Linked DNA regions of Homo sapiens: regions 2, 3 and 4 are each linked to region 1. Evidence: promoter capture Hi-C in 16 types of primary human blood cells and fetal thymus (Javierre and others, 2016). All regions are on one chromosome and are shown on one strand. The core of a region is centred on a gene start or on the middle of the fragment in contact, and the rest is flanking DNA. Distances in the headings are between cores, read along the strand shown. Region 1 holds the start of CASP10 (caspase 10). Region 2 holds the start of TRAK2 (trafficking kinesin protein 2). Region 3 holds the start of TMEM237 (transmembrane protein 237). Region 4 holds the start of CATSPERT (catsper channel auxiliary subunit tau).

Region 1 (3,052 bases), core at 295-2,794:
TTGGTTAGGAAAACAGATGCTTCCCTTTTTGACTTACCAAGGAAATGGAGATCCAAAGGAAAGCCTGAAGCACTTTGTGGCTTCCACGGGTTCGTTTCTAGGAAGCTTTTGCTTTACCTGGGGAAACCCCAAGCTCTACAGTGAGAAAGTTGTAAATTAGCCTTTAGGAGACGCTGTTTGTCAAAGTTATCTTAACCCTGGAAAAGGGGAGGGAAAAAGGCAGATAAGCAGTGATGACATCAGCAGGAAACTAGTATCAGGCTACCCAGTCCTGAAGATTCAGTTTTCACTTAAACAACCAGCAAGTCTTGAAGTCTCTTCCCAAGCAAATGGGAGCTTCTTTGGACCTTGGAGCACACAGAGGATTCTACTTTCTTTAAAACTTTGTTTTCAGGCAATTTCCCTGAGAACCGTTTACTTCCAGAAGATTGGTGGAGCTTGATCTGAAGGTATGTAATTAACAACCCTTCTTACTCCAGAGTCTCATGCTTGAATCTTTTCCTTTGCTTCATGGCTTCGTGTTGTAGAAACTTGCAAAAACTTGTCAGCAATGGCACTATTTTTTCTTAGATTTCTTTGTCATGCCTGGGAAAACAAAAGTTAAAAAATCCGGAAGCCTCCAACATAGCCTTTTACCGGGGCAGAAATATGTTAGCTCACAGAGACAAAGTTTGGTAGACTCACTAAAACTAGAGATCAGAATTGTCAAGAAACCACAAGGCAAATGCTAGATGCGGTAGAATAGAAAGGTGTCTCCAATAAACCACTCATTTGACCTCAGGGCTAGTAGCAGGGAAGATCCCCTGGATTATCACATTAAAAATGACATTTTTTTGTTTCTTTTAACACCAAAAGTAATGTGTATGCTCACATATGCATAAAATTTGAGAAATTCAATTGGAAGCCCAGAAGGAAATTTGTATTATCTATAGTTATGTCACCTCGATATAACCACTGTTTGTTATGGAGGTTTTGATTTTTGCTGTGTCTTCCTTCCTTTATTTATTTATTTATTTATTTATTTATTTATCTATTTATTTATTTGAGACGGAGTCTCCCTCTTTCACCCTCCAGCACTCAAGCTGGAGTGCAGTGGCACAATCTTGGCTTACTGCAACTTCCGCCTCCCAGGTTCAAGCAATCCTCCCATCTCAGCTTCCTATGAAGCTGGGACCACAGGCATACACCACCAAGCCCAGCTAATTTTTGTATTTTTTGTAGAGACGGGGTTTCACCGTGTTGCCCAGGCTTGTCCCGAATTCCTGGCCTCACAGTGATCCACCTGCCTCAGTCTCCTGAAGTGCTTCTCTGATTATAATGAAATTTAGTATGTAGAATACCATAGTTTATAGACTAGTCAGATGGAAACATTGACTCATGTAATTTTTATCTTCCTTCGCTGATTTGAGCAACTCTTGTCTAAAATCACCCTTTCCTTCTGAGGTCTAGGAGGTTTTTTTGTTGTTGTTTTGTTTTGTTTTTGAGGCAGGGTCTTGCTCTGTCACCCAGGGTGGAGTGCAGTGGCACAATCATGGCTCACTGGAACCTCCATCCCCGGGGCTCAAATGATCCTTCTGCTTCAGCCCTCTGAGTAGTTGGGACCACAGGCGTGCACCACCATGCCTGGCTAATTTTTGTATTTTTTGTAGAGATGGGGTTTTACCACGTTGCCCAGTCTGGTCTTGAACTCCTGGCCTCAAGTGATCCACCCGCCTTGGCCTCCCAAAGTGCTGGGATTATAGGCGTAAGCCATGACACCCCACCTGTTCCTTCCTTTATAAAGTATTTTCTTGTTTCTAAAAATAGCCAAGTTCTGCATATTGACTACATACCTCAAGTGCTTATAGAATAAATAGTATTACAATGAAAATTTTATCACTGCATTGCTCCTCTGATTATGATGAAATTTAGTATAGAGAATAGCATAGTTTATAAACTGATCAGATGGAAACATTGACTCATGTAATTTGTTTTTTTTTAGTGAAAACAAGTTTATTAGAGAAGTAAAGAAACAAAAGAATGGCTACTCCATAGACAGAGCAGCCGACTCATGTAATTTTTAACTTCCTACACTGATTTGAGCAACTCTTGTCTAAAACCACCCTTTCCTCCTGAGGTCTAGGATATTTTATTTATTTATTTTTCTTTTTGAAACAGGGTCTCACTCTGTCACCCAGGGTGAAGTGCAGTGGCATGATCATGGCTCACTGCAACCTGTGCTCCCCAGGCTCAAATGATCCTTCCATCCTCGGCCTCCTGAGTAGTTGGGACCACAGGCATGTGCCACCATGCCCTGATAATTTTTTGTATTTTTAGTAGAGACCAGGTCTCGCCATGTTGCTCAGGCTTGAGGTCTAGGATTATGCCTTCCCTTTCTGTAAGATAAAGGCCTGCCCTCTTACAGGTAGCAGTCTGAAGTTAAGATGTAACACACATACCTCACGGTACCTTGCTGTCTTTGGGTTGATAGATCATAAGGATAACCCTGCCTCCCCCAGATTGCTTTGTGTCTAAAACTTAAAGCATAGAGCCAAGTGCTATTTCTGCCACGTGCTGGAAATGAATGTAAGGGCTCCAATCAGGCTACCAGGCTTGAGAAAAATTGTGCTGTGTCCCTCCATCTTAACTTTCTCTCTCTGGGAACATTTTGATTTGGGAGAAATCAAGGTGAATTGAATTCCAATATAAGCACCCTCCAAGTTTCCTAAAAAGTAACTTGCAAGTGTTGGGGAAAAGTTTTCTGGGCTGTTGCTTTTTGAAGTAGCCTCGCCGTAATTTTTATTTTTCAGCACTTCTAGGAAAGTCTAATGCCCAGAACGGAGAAGGTTGTGGTGAGGGGAGGGCCTGGGAAGTCAGGGGGCCATATGTCCTCACTCTCTAACTCCCTGCCCCACCTCTCTGTCCCTTTCAGGCTGGCCATGAAATCTCAAGGTCAACATTGGTATTCCAGTTCAGATAAAAACTGTAAAGTGAGCTTTCGTGAGAAGCTTCTGATTATTGATTCAAACCTGGGGGTCCAAGATGTGGAGAACCTCAAGTTTCTCTGCATAGG
Region 2 (3,049 bases), core at 360-2,859, 270 kb after region 1:
TGGCCAGGCTGGTGTATTTCCTTTCAGTAGAGACGGGTTTCTCCATGTTGGTCAGGCTGTTCTTGAACTCTCCACCTCAGGAGATCTGTCCTCCTTGGCCTCCCAAAGTGCTGGGATTACAGGAGTGAGCCACAGCGCCCGGCCAAATGTTGGTTCTTTCTAACAAACCTCTTCCATCATATGAATAAGTGTGTAAGATAACAAAACACTGTCTTTCACATGGTATGTGCTTGCTAAATGTCTGAGACTTGCTGGACATTACTTAATTTTAAAAATAGAAAACTGGAGCTGGGTGTGGCGGCTCACGTCTGTAATCCCAGCACTTTGGGAGGCCAAAGCGGGTGGATCATGAGGTCAAGAGATCGAGACCATCCTGGCCAACATGGTGAAACCCCATCTCTACTAAAAACACAAAAATTAGCTGGGCGTGGTGGTGCGCGCCTGTAGTCCCAGCTACTCTGCAGGCTGAGGCAGGAGAATCGCTTGAATCCGGGAGGCGGAGGTTGCAGTGAGCCGAGATCACCCCACTGCACTCCAGCCTGGCGACAGAGCGAGACTCTGTCTTAAAAAAAAAAAAGAAAAGAAAGTTGGAATAACTGCTAGGATGATAAAATGTCTTCATCCCTGACCTTTCTCACCTCCAAATGTCCTTCACAATTTGTTTTTAAGTGTCATGTCACCACCATTAACCTGCTATTTGGAGACTACTGTACCTCAGACTTCCAAGTCAACAGCAAAGATCTAAAGGTCGGGAAGATTTACGGAGACCAAGAACTGAAAGTGTTCCTTTTGTTCCTATGGTCCATTCCATCAACTTGATGAATATCCTGTGAAGTTACCTTTTTTTTTTTTTTTTCTGACGTAGAAACAGCAGGTCTAAGCAAAAGGTGCATGAGCAAGAGCAAGTAACATCCCTATTATTATGACGCAGATTTTTTTTTAAGTTGAAATTCAATTTTTGGGCTGCTACTAAAAAGGACATGTGCGAATATCTATTATTTACGCTTCAAACTAAAGTCAGCCGTTTTTCTTTTTCAAGATATGTGGCATCTGGCTCAAAATCAATTGCAAGAAAAGCCCAACTCTATTTGACCCAGAAAGAGCTCTTTCCAATACCCTCTCCTCCCACTTACATCACAGATGGCGACTGAAGCTTAAGGTTTAATGCCCGACCCTAAAGCCACTCATCCTAAAAGACAGGGCTCCAGATGGATGCTGTATGGCAGAGGATAAGGCGCTATGAGAAGCTGCCAAGCCTCAGATGTGCAGCTGGGCTGAATACCGACGCCAGCGCCTAGCGCCCATTACTTTGCACCCACACTTAGGAAACAACCCACGCCTCACCGCGGGACCCGGACCCAGCCCTCCAGCACCCAGCCTCCGGCTCCGACGTCCGCGCGTGACCTCCGGGTACCGGAGGACCTTGGGACGAGGAGGTCCCTCCGCTTTCCGGGGAAGTTGTCAAGGGCAAGTTCGGGTTCTGCGCGGACAGCTTACTCACTGGAGTGGTTCGGCATCCTCTGTCGTCCGCCCGCGCTTCCTCAGGAAGCCCCTAATGCAGCGGCAGCCTGAAAGCAGCAGCCGAAGCTGCTGCCGCTGCTCCCACTGCCAGCAACCGCCCGGGCGTGGCAGGGACAGGCGGGCGACTTCACAACATCATCACTCGGCGACCTCGGTTCTGCGGCGACACCGGGTCAATGGCAGCCCCCACACAATTGGGGAAGCCAAAGGAGAGCCACTCTCCCAGCGGCCTCCACGGCCCCAGCGCAAGACCTGCTGGGAATTGTAGTTTCCTGCCCGCCCCGCCTCAAGCTCGAAGGCCCCGCCTTCTCGCTGCCCAGCCCCGGGGAGGGAGGCGGGGCCGCGACCCCGGCGCGGGTGGGGCGAATGCGTTCCCAGCGGGTAGCCTGGGACTGGTGCAGAGTTCCAAGCCCACGGCCCCGGTCGCGGCCTCGCCGCCCTCCCGCGCCCCGCGCCGGGAGCGGGCCTAGAGCGCTCGCCTCGCCCCTCCGCGAGCAGGGCTCTGGCGCCCGCCCCTGTCCGCACCGCTGGCAGCCTGAAGAGAGTCGCTGGCCGTGGTCGCCGCTAGGGTAAAGACGGGAGGCAGGCCCGGGAAGGGAAGGTGTCGGGGCCGGTGGGGGACGTGTGAGGGAGTGAGCCTTGGTCCGCGCACGCCCGGGAAGCCAGAGGCCAGAACGCGCTAGCCCACCTCCAGCCCGAGCACCGGCGGCTGGCGGGAGCCGTGGCAAGAATGCGGCCCGAGGTGGCGAGCAGCCACTGCGCCAGTGCAGCTCGGGCTCAGCGGGGCCCGGGCCGCGGGTTCGCAGCCCGCCCAGTGGTGCCTGCCGGGTTGGCCGTGCCGGCCGTGCCAGGTGCGCGGGGCCCAGGCCGCCCGGGCGCCCTCTCCCCGCACCCCTCACCTTTGGCCGCGCTCTCGGGCTTGGGGAGTTGCCATATCGAAGACACCCTCAGACCCCAGCTCTATCTGCCGCCTTCTGCAAGTTCGCTGCAAAGTCCCCCATAGCAGGACTAGGAAGGAACCTTTTACAAAATTAAATACTCGAGTGTCGTTTTGTCTTCGGTTTTTCAATTCAACGCTGTGTTTTTCCCTGCTGGGTCTTTGTCAAGTACCTTTTCCCCAAAACTTGATACGGATGTGTAACACGGCGCCTGCTTAGCACGGTGCCTGGCACCCAGTAGGCGCTCAGTAAAGATTTGTTGAACGCATGAGTCACTAAGCTTGGAAAATTCTCCTGAACTGTGCGTCGCTATGATCTTTGTTAAGATTTTATGGGTTCCCAAGATCACTTTGAAAATTACAGTAATTTTAAAGCTCAACAAAGAGTTACATCGGGTCATTTTTGCATTCCCTGTAACAGTGGCCTCTGTTGAATGCCTAAATTAACTCAAAACCCGTGTTCTAGAAGATGCGCCCTTTGGTTTCTACAGAAAGTGTTAATCTTTCAGATCAAAGTCTTCACATGAACCATTCTATTATGGAACAAACTGAAATTACTTATAAAGCTTTATCGTAATTAGCGTTTTGGAT
Region 3 (3,004 bases), core at 1-2,500, 460 kb after region 1:
CAAAAGGGTTAAATTTTAGACACTCTTGTAGTTTGTCCCATTTAGCAATCCATTCGTTCGAACAGTAGATTAATGCAAGTACTACAAGATTAGGACGAGGCAAGCTGCCGTAATACCATCCAGTAGTCAAAATTACAATTGGAGAAGAATGACAGTCACAGGAACGCGCTATTGTTCTAAAGATGCTACGAAGCGCGCGCGATCGATCCCAGGGCTCTGTTCACGTAACTGATTTCAAAAGTCCCGCAAAAATGACGTTCCACCCACCCAGAGACCCAACCTCTAATCCTCAAAAGTAGGACGGCTCAACTGAAGACAAAAATCCTAACAATTAAAAGTAGCTAAGGCTCGCTTACCACAGGATTCTTCCCCATTCTGCGTTTAGCCGGCCTCGGCGGCCGCCGGCCCCCAAGCACCTGGCGCCCCACCCCTCCCGGCTCGGTCGCGCGCGCAGGCGCAATGCGTCATCGGGCCGCGCCGCCTGGCTAGTACCCCGCGCGCAGCGCCCTGCGGGGATGTTGCGGTGAGAGGCGTGCAGGGACCTGGATTGGCCAGTCCAGACTAGCCCTGCCAAAAAGGGGGCCTCGGAGTTGGGGGTAATGTGCCCAGGAGCAGAAATCTGGCGACCGTGGCGCTGCAATCACAGCTTTCCCGTGGTTTCCTAAGTGGTGGCGGTGATTTGTTTGCGGGAAGCGGGGCGTGACGGAAGACCTTAATTAAAGGACTCCGCAGGCGAACAGATCTCTTCTGGGCAGCTACAGACCTCTCCTCGGAGGAGTCTAGGAGAGGCCTGGCTGGAAGCCCCGGCACCCGCCGGGCCCCGGGCCTCAGATGAGTGAGGCGTCGTCGTGGCAACGCGGGCTCAGGTCCCCGCAAACTTCATGCCAGGCCTCTCTCTCCCACTCCGGGAGTTCGGTCCCGGCCTCGCCTGCGTCTCCGTCCCATTCCTGTGAACACTGGAGGGGCGGATGCGCGCACCCCACGAGCAAGGCCCTCCCTTAGTGATTCCCAGCTCGTTGGCGCCCCCCCACACACACCCACCCCCACTGCCAAGTGTAGCTGTTTACCCGCCACCTCTCGAGGCCGACGCGCCCCTCGCCGCTCACCAGGTGGCCCTCCTCCAGCCGAGCCCCCGAGTCAGTCCTCATGGTGCTCTCCCCGCGGGGCTGCCCCGGCGCAACCGCCGGCGGCCCGAGCCCAGCTCCCCGCGACGCAGCGGCCTCCGGGACCTGTGGGACGCCGGGGCTTCGTGGCGCCTGGCGAGGCAGCCGCCCCCTGAGCCAGGTCCCCGCCCGCCTCTGTCCTGCCAGGCGCTGCTGGGTTTGGGAGGAATGCGTTTACTCTCCAGGACCAACGAGTCTGTGCAGGCCTGGGTGTGTGGATGTGTATTAATATAGGCAATTCTCACATTTTCTCCGATTGCTTACCCTTCATCCCACAACTGTGTAAATCAAATTTGGAAAAACTTTTTCTCAACCTTAAAATCAAATCCAACCTCACATAAATATCACTACAAACTACCTGATTTGCATCGTTTGGTTTGGTTGGGTTTGTTTTTTTTTAAAGATAACTTTCACTTTAAGTAACAGAGAACTACAAATATTTTGAATCATGCATTCTGTTTTACAGTTAAGAAAGAAATGGGAAAGATGGAAGAATGGTGTGGATATGGAGAAGAGAATGATGCAGAAGATGAACAGATACAGGGACAGGGAAAGCGCCTGGAAATCTCAAATCTGGGGAAAGAAAGAGAAACAGCACTTTGTAATGGCATCCTAATCTTGTTACCAAACAAACGGGGCTTGTTGCCCTATACGCACAGAAGCCAATATTATGGCGCTGATTTTTTGAGAAAAGTTTTCATTGTGAGTCAGCTAACAAGGAGACAGGAGTATAGCTCTAATCTGTCTCCCTGTGTTGGCTTTAAGACAGTATTTTTATTAGAAAACGTTTAGGGGGTGGATTCTGGGATTAGTAGGTGATTGGTGGAAGGAAAGAAGCCATCTGGAAAATCCTCTGGCGTTCGCAGTTACCTCTTCATGTCCCTTCATGGGTCGCATGTGCAAATTTTGGAGGGAGTCAGTGTGAAACATGGGGAAAGATTCAAGCTGTGACGCCAGCAAGCTCATTTTGTACAGACTCCAGGTAGCCATCCGTGTTAGTACTAACCACTTTCAGCCAGTTTGCTTTGTTTTGTTTTGTTTTGTTTTTTAATCTCACAATGGAAGAAGTTTAGGCGTTTTATTTAGCAAGTTGTTTTTTATCTGCCGTCCTGCATGCTCAAGAATTTCTGTTAGTCCCTGGTTTCTTTAACTCTGAGACACGGTTTCACTCTTGTGATTTTCTATATATAGGTCTCTGGGATTAATCCATTGCCTTTTTCTAATTTAGGCCTGCATGTAGATATTGGCTGTTAAGGAAAATTAGTGTTTGTCACACCTCTCATGAGAATAATTTTTTCCTTGTAGGCCGATTTGTAAATAGTGAAGGCAGTGCAGTTTCTTGTAGGTTTTGATTTTAGATGTGAAATGTGTACATTAAACCTTTCTTGCTGAGTTAGTCAAGTAAGCACTTTTTGTAAAAGATGTTTTCATAAAACACGTTTCATAGAGTACAGTTTCTAAAGTTAACTATTGCTTATTTTATTTAGGAAAGCTCTTTATTTAAATCTTAAAAAGATCATGTGAAATCTGCGAAAGGTTCTCATACTCAGTGACTTAACATTATTCATATTTCTACCACAGCTGCATATGAGGTAAAGGAAAAAAAATTAAGTTAAAATAGGTAACCACATAACCATACAATAAAAATTTTTTTCAAATAAGATTAATTAATAAATTGCTGCACTTTTAAAGTTGTACACATTAAAATGGGTCAAATACTGTTGTTTTAGATTGCAACTATGGATCGCTGTATCAAGGGTACAGTGTTAAAACTCCAGCATTAAACAAGAAGTCTCATTGAGACTCAGTATCTGAGGAAATCCATGTTGCTGGTACCCACT
Region 4 (3,353 bases), core at 176-2,675, 430 kb after region 1:
GCATCAGAGTGAACAGGCAGCCTACAGAATGGGAGAAAATTTTTGCAATCTATCCATCTGACAAAGGGCTAATATCCAGAATCTACAAAGAACTGAAACAAATTTACAAGAAAAAAACAAACAACCCCATCAAAAAGTGGGCAAAGTATATGAACAGACACTTCTCAAAAGAAGACATTTATGCAGCCAACAGACACATGAAAAAATGCTCATCATCACTGGCCATCAGAGAAATGCAAATCAAAACCACAATGAGATACCATCTCACACCAGTTAGAATGGCAATCATTAAAAAGTCAGGAAACAACAGGTGCTGGAGAGGATGTGGAGAAATAGGAACGCTTTTACACTGTTGGTGGGAGTGTAAACTAGTTCAACCATTGTGGAAGACAGTGTGGCGATTCCTCAAGGGTCTAGAACTAGAAATACCATTTGACCCAGCCATCCCATTACTGGGCATATACCCAAAGGATTATAAATCATGCTGCTATAAAGTCACGTGCACACATATGTTTATTATGGCACTATTCACAATGGCAAAGACTAGGAACCAACCCAAATGTCCATCAATGACAGACTGGATTAAGAAAATGTGGCACATATACACCATGGAATACTATGCAGCCATATAAAAAGGATGAGTTCATGTCCTTTGTGGGGTCATGGATGAAGCTGGAAACCATCATTCTCAGCAAACTATCGCAAGGACAGAAAACCAAACACTGCATGTTCTCACTCATAGGTGGGAATTGAACAATGAGAATACTTGGACACGGGGGGGGAACATCACACACCACGGCCTGTCGTGGGTTGGGGGGAGGGAGGAGGGATAGCATTAGGAGATATACCTAATGTAAATGACGAGTTAATGGGTGCAGCACACCAACATGGCACATGTATACCTATGTAACAAACCTGCACGTTGTGCACATGTACCCTAGAACTTAAAGTATAATAAAAAATAAAAAATAAAAATAAAAAAAAGGAATTGCTATAAACGAAAAAAAAAAGGATTAAAGGGTTCAATGTGTGCCAATTGAAGGGAGATGCAATTGGCACACATTGAACCCTTTAATCCTTTCACCACCCTCCAGGTGCCCTGCTGGCCCCGGTCCTCCAGGTGCCGGCCAGGCCCCCGCTCACTCACGTTCAGCAGCCGGTGCCCGGTGCCCTCCTGGTTCTTGTTCTTAGGCAGGGCCGTCGTGCCCTGGTTCAGGGCGTAAGGGACCGAAGAAGCCTCCGACCCTTTAATGTGCATGATATCCGGGCTGCTGTAGGGATTCCTCTGCAATAGCGGGGTGGCGGACAGGACTTGGACCTGCCCGCTGCGGTTATCAAGTGTGCTGAAAGGCCTATTTGTCTCTTGGGGTGGCTCCATCTCTCCATCTTCTGCGGCCTGTCTGCGCCCAACCGACGGCCCGCTACTGCGCAGGCGCGGCCCTCCCGCAGCCTTTCTCACATTTTCCCAGCGCGTGCGTGCCGCCTAGTGACCCACTCAGGCCGGGCCCATGCTGGGAGTGGCTGGAGGCAGCTTTGGAAGCATGCGTGCTTAGCGAGCCTGGAGGGTCTGCTGCAAGCACTTGCCAGGCCATTTCAGTCTCCTTTAGAAGGAAATCAGAGCACGCTGGTGGAGAGCAAGGCCCCTCATGGGGCCCAACCACTTTAGTTCACTGTCTTGTCCGCCCTGTAGCCCTCACGAGTCCTTTTCTCCCTGCACCATTTCTTTCTAGAAGATTTACAGTGTCAGTCATTACTTCCTCTACACTGTCCCGTGAGCTCCAGACGTTAAATATCCAACAGTCTACTTTGACATCTTTACCCAATTGTTCCACAGACACATAACACGTTAATATTCATCTTCCCTCTTAAACCTCTAGTAGGTTCCAAACTCATTTGGTGCAGCAATGTCATATCCACAAAATCTTAAACATTCAGACACATTTTAAAATTCTGACCCTAAATATCTGAATCTTACTTACCTTTTCCCTTTATGGCACCTAATTTGGGACAACACACACACGAGACAATTGCAATGATTTACTCATGGGTCTGCCAACCTGCTGTCATCCATCCCTTTCACTGCCCCCGTATTAGTCCTTTGCAGTAACGAATGGAGCTGAAGGCCATTATCCTAAGCAGACTAACACAGGAACAGAAAACCAAATACCACGTTCTCACTTATAAATGCGAGCTAAACAATGAGAACACATGGACACAAAGAGGGGAGCAACAGACACTGGGGCCTACTTGACGGCGAAGGGTGGGAGGCGGGAGAGGATCAAAAACTACCTTTTGGGCACTAGGCTTATTACCTGGGTGATGAAATAATCTGTACACCCCCATGACACAAAATTTACCTATATAACAAACCTGCACATGTACCCTTGAACCTAAAAGTTAAAAATATAAATAAATGCAAACAGAACAAAACCAGAGAATTCCAGAACTTCTTTATTGTACATAAAAATCTGAATTTCTTAATATGGAAACCAAAGGTCTGCAAAATGTACTCTCCTAGCTCAGGATCATTATTTATTCCTCTTATTTTTGGAATCTATTCTTCTTTTATTCAAGGACCAACTCAAAGGTCAGCTTTTAGTTAACTCTTATATCCCCATACACATATCCTAAAGGCAGAGTTAACTGCTATATCCAAGCTACTTCTTGGCATATCCTTGTCAGCCTAAATAACAGAGAGGGAGACTCTCTGAAAGAAAATGATGTTTATTCAGGAGTAGGCATTGCAATAAGAATACAAGTGCCACAGTAAACTATGTGCATATACAGGGAGGTCAAGGAAGACAACGGTTTTTAAAGCAAAAATGATTGTTTTGAGAGAATTATCCTTGGCTACAAGGATCAATAACAAGGATGTTGCCAGTTGGACATTGGACAGGGAGTTGCTGGGCAAATGTCCTCATAGAAGTATTTTTTGTGTGTGTCAGGTTGTGATGGCCTTTGTGCAAGGTGTGGTTTTGTGCAGTCTTTTAATGATAGTCCTCATTATCAGACATCTGTGCATGAAAATCGTCCTTTCACGGCCTTCCCCAGCTCTATTTGTTAGGATTTTTAACACAATGACCAGAACTTGATTTTGACAACTTTCACATCCTATTAGTGGGCTCACACTGTTAGTTGCTAATCTCAAAAGATAGAGTTCTTTAGGGGCAGGAACCTGCACCTCACCTTGTGCTCCTCAGAGTACATGGCCCAATATCCCAAGGCCCTTAACACATTTGTCATTATTTCAGATTTATACTATGTGGTGTGTTAATTACTGCACCCCATGAAACTTGCTGTCCAGCAGCTCACTCTGTTCTTAGGGTTCATGTTATGCAACATAAAGTACACAG

What was found. Contacts are between HindIII fragments. The CHiCAGO score rates a contact against its expected background, and 5 or more counts as called.
Region 2: a contact is called between the fragment with the promoter of TRAK2 here and a fragment that was not itself captured in region 1, in 10 of 17 cell types (naive CD4 T cells, fetal thymus, non-activated CD4 T cells and 7 more). The highest score is 9.7, in naive CD4 T cells.
Region 3: the fragment with the promoter of TMEM237 here is called in contact with a fragment that was not itself captured in region 1 in 1 of 17 cell types (endothelial precursors); the score reaches 5.9 in endothelial precursors.
Region 4: the fragment with the promoter of CATSPERT here is called in contact with a fragment that was not itself captured in region 1 in 1 of 17 cell types (endothelial precursors); the score reaches 5.7 in endothelial precursors.

What each region holds. Positions count from the first base shown.
Region 1 is chr2:201,182,860-201,185,911 of GRCh38, forward strand. It overlaps CASP10 (caspase 10), which reads left to right and starts at 282. Exons shown (of 10, transcript NM_032977.4): 1 at 282-449; 2 at 2,912-3,052. The coding sequence starts at 2,919. The HindIII fragment of the contact is 2,882 bases long and covers 104-2,985 here.
Region 2 is chr2:201,449,849-201,452,897 of GRCh38, forward strand. It overlaps TRAK2 (trafficking kinesin protein 2), which reads right to left and starts at 1,610. Exons shown (of 16, transcript NM_015049.3): 1 at 1,502-1,610. It overlaps STRADB (STE20 related adaptor beta), which reads left to right and starts at 1,892. Exons shown (of 12, transcript NM_018571.6): 1 at 1,892-2,090. RefSeq lists enhancers at 965-1,819, 1,223-1,752 and a silencer at 1,783-2,462. The HindIII fragment of the contact is 1,586 bases long and covers 1,152-2,737 here.
Region 3 is chr2:201,642,253-201,645,256 of GRCh38, forward strand. It overlaps TMEM237 (transmembrane protein 237), which reads right to left and starts at 1,251. Exons shown (of 13, transcript NM_001044385.3): 1 at 1,107-1,251. The coding sequence starts at 1,148. It overlaps MPP4 (MAGUK p55 scaffold protein 4), which reads right to left. Exons shown (of 22, transcript NM_033066.3): 22 at 2,622-3,004. The coding sequence ends at 2,958. RefSeq lists silencers at 350-539, 1,110-1,369. The HindIII fragment of the contact is 8,699 bases long and covers 1-3,004 here.
Region 4 is chr2:201,617,753-201,621,105 of GRCh38, forward strand. It overlaps CATSPERT (catsper channel auxiliary subunit tau), which reads right to left and starts at 1,426. Exons shown (of 16, transcript NM_001168221.2): 1 at 1,148-1,426. The coding sequence starts at 1,378. It overlaps TMEM237 (transmembrane protein 237), which reads right to left. Exons shown (of 13, transcript NM_001044385.3): 13 at 2,434-3,353. The HindIII fragment of the contact is 11,514 bases long and covers 1-3,353 here.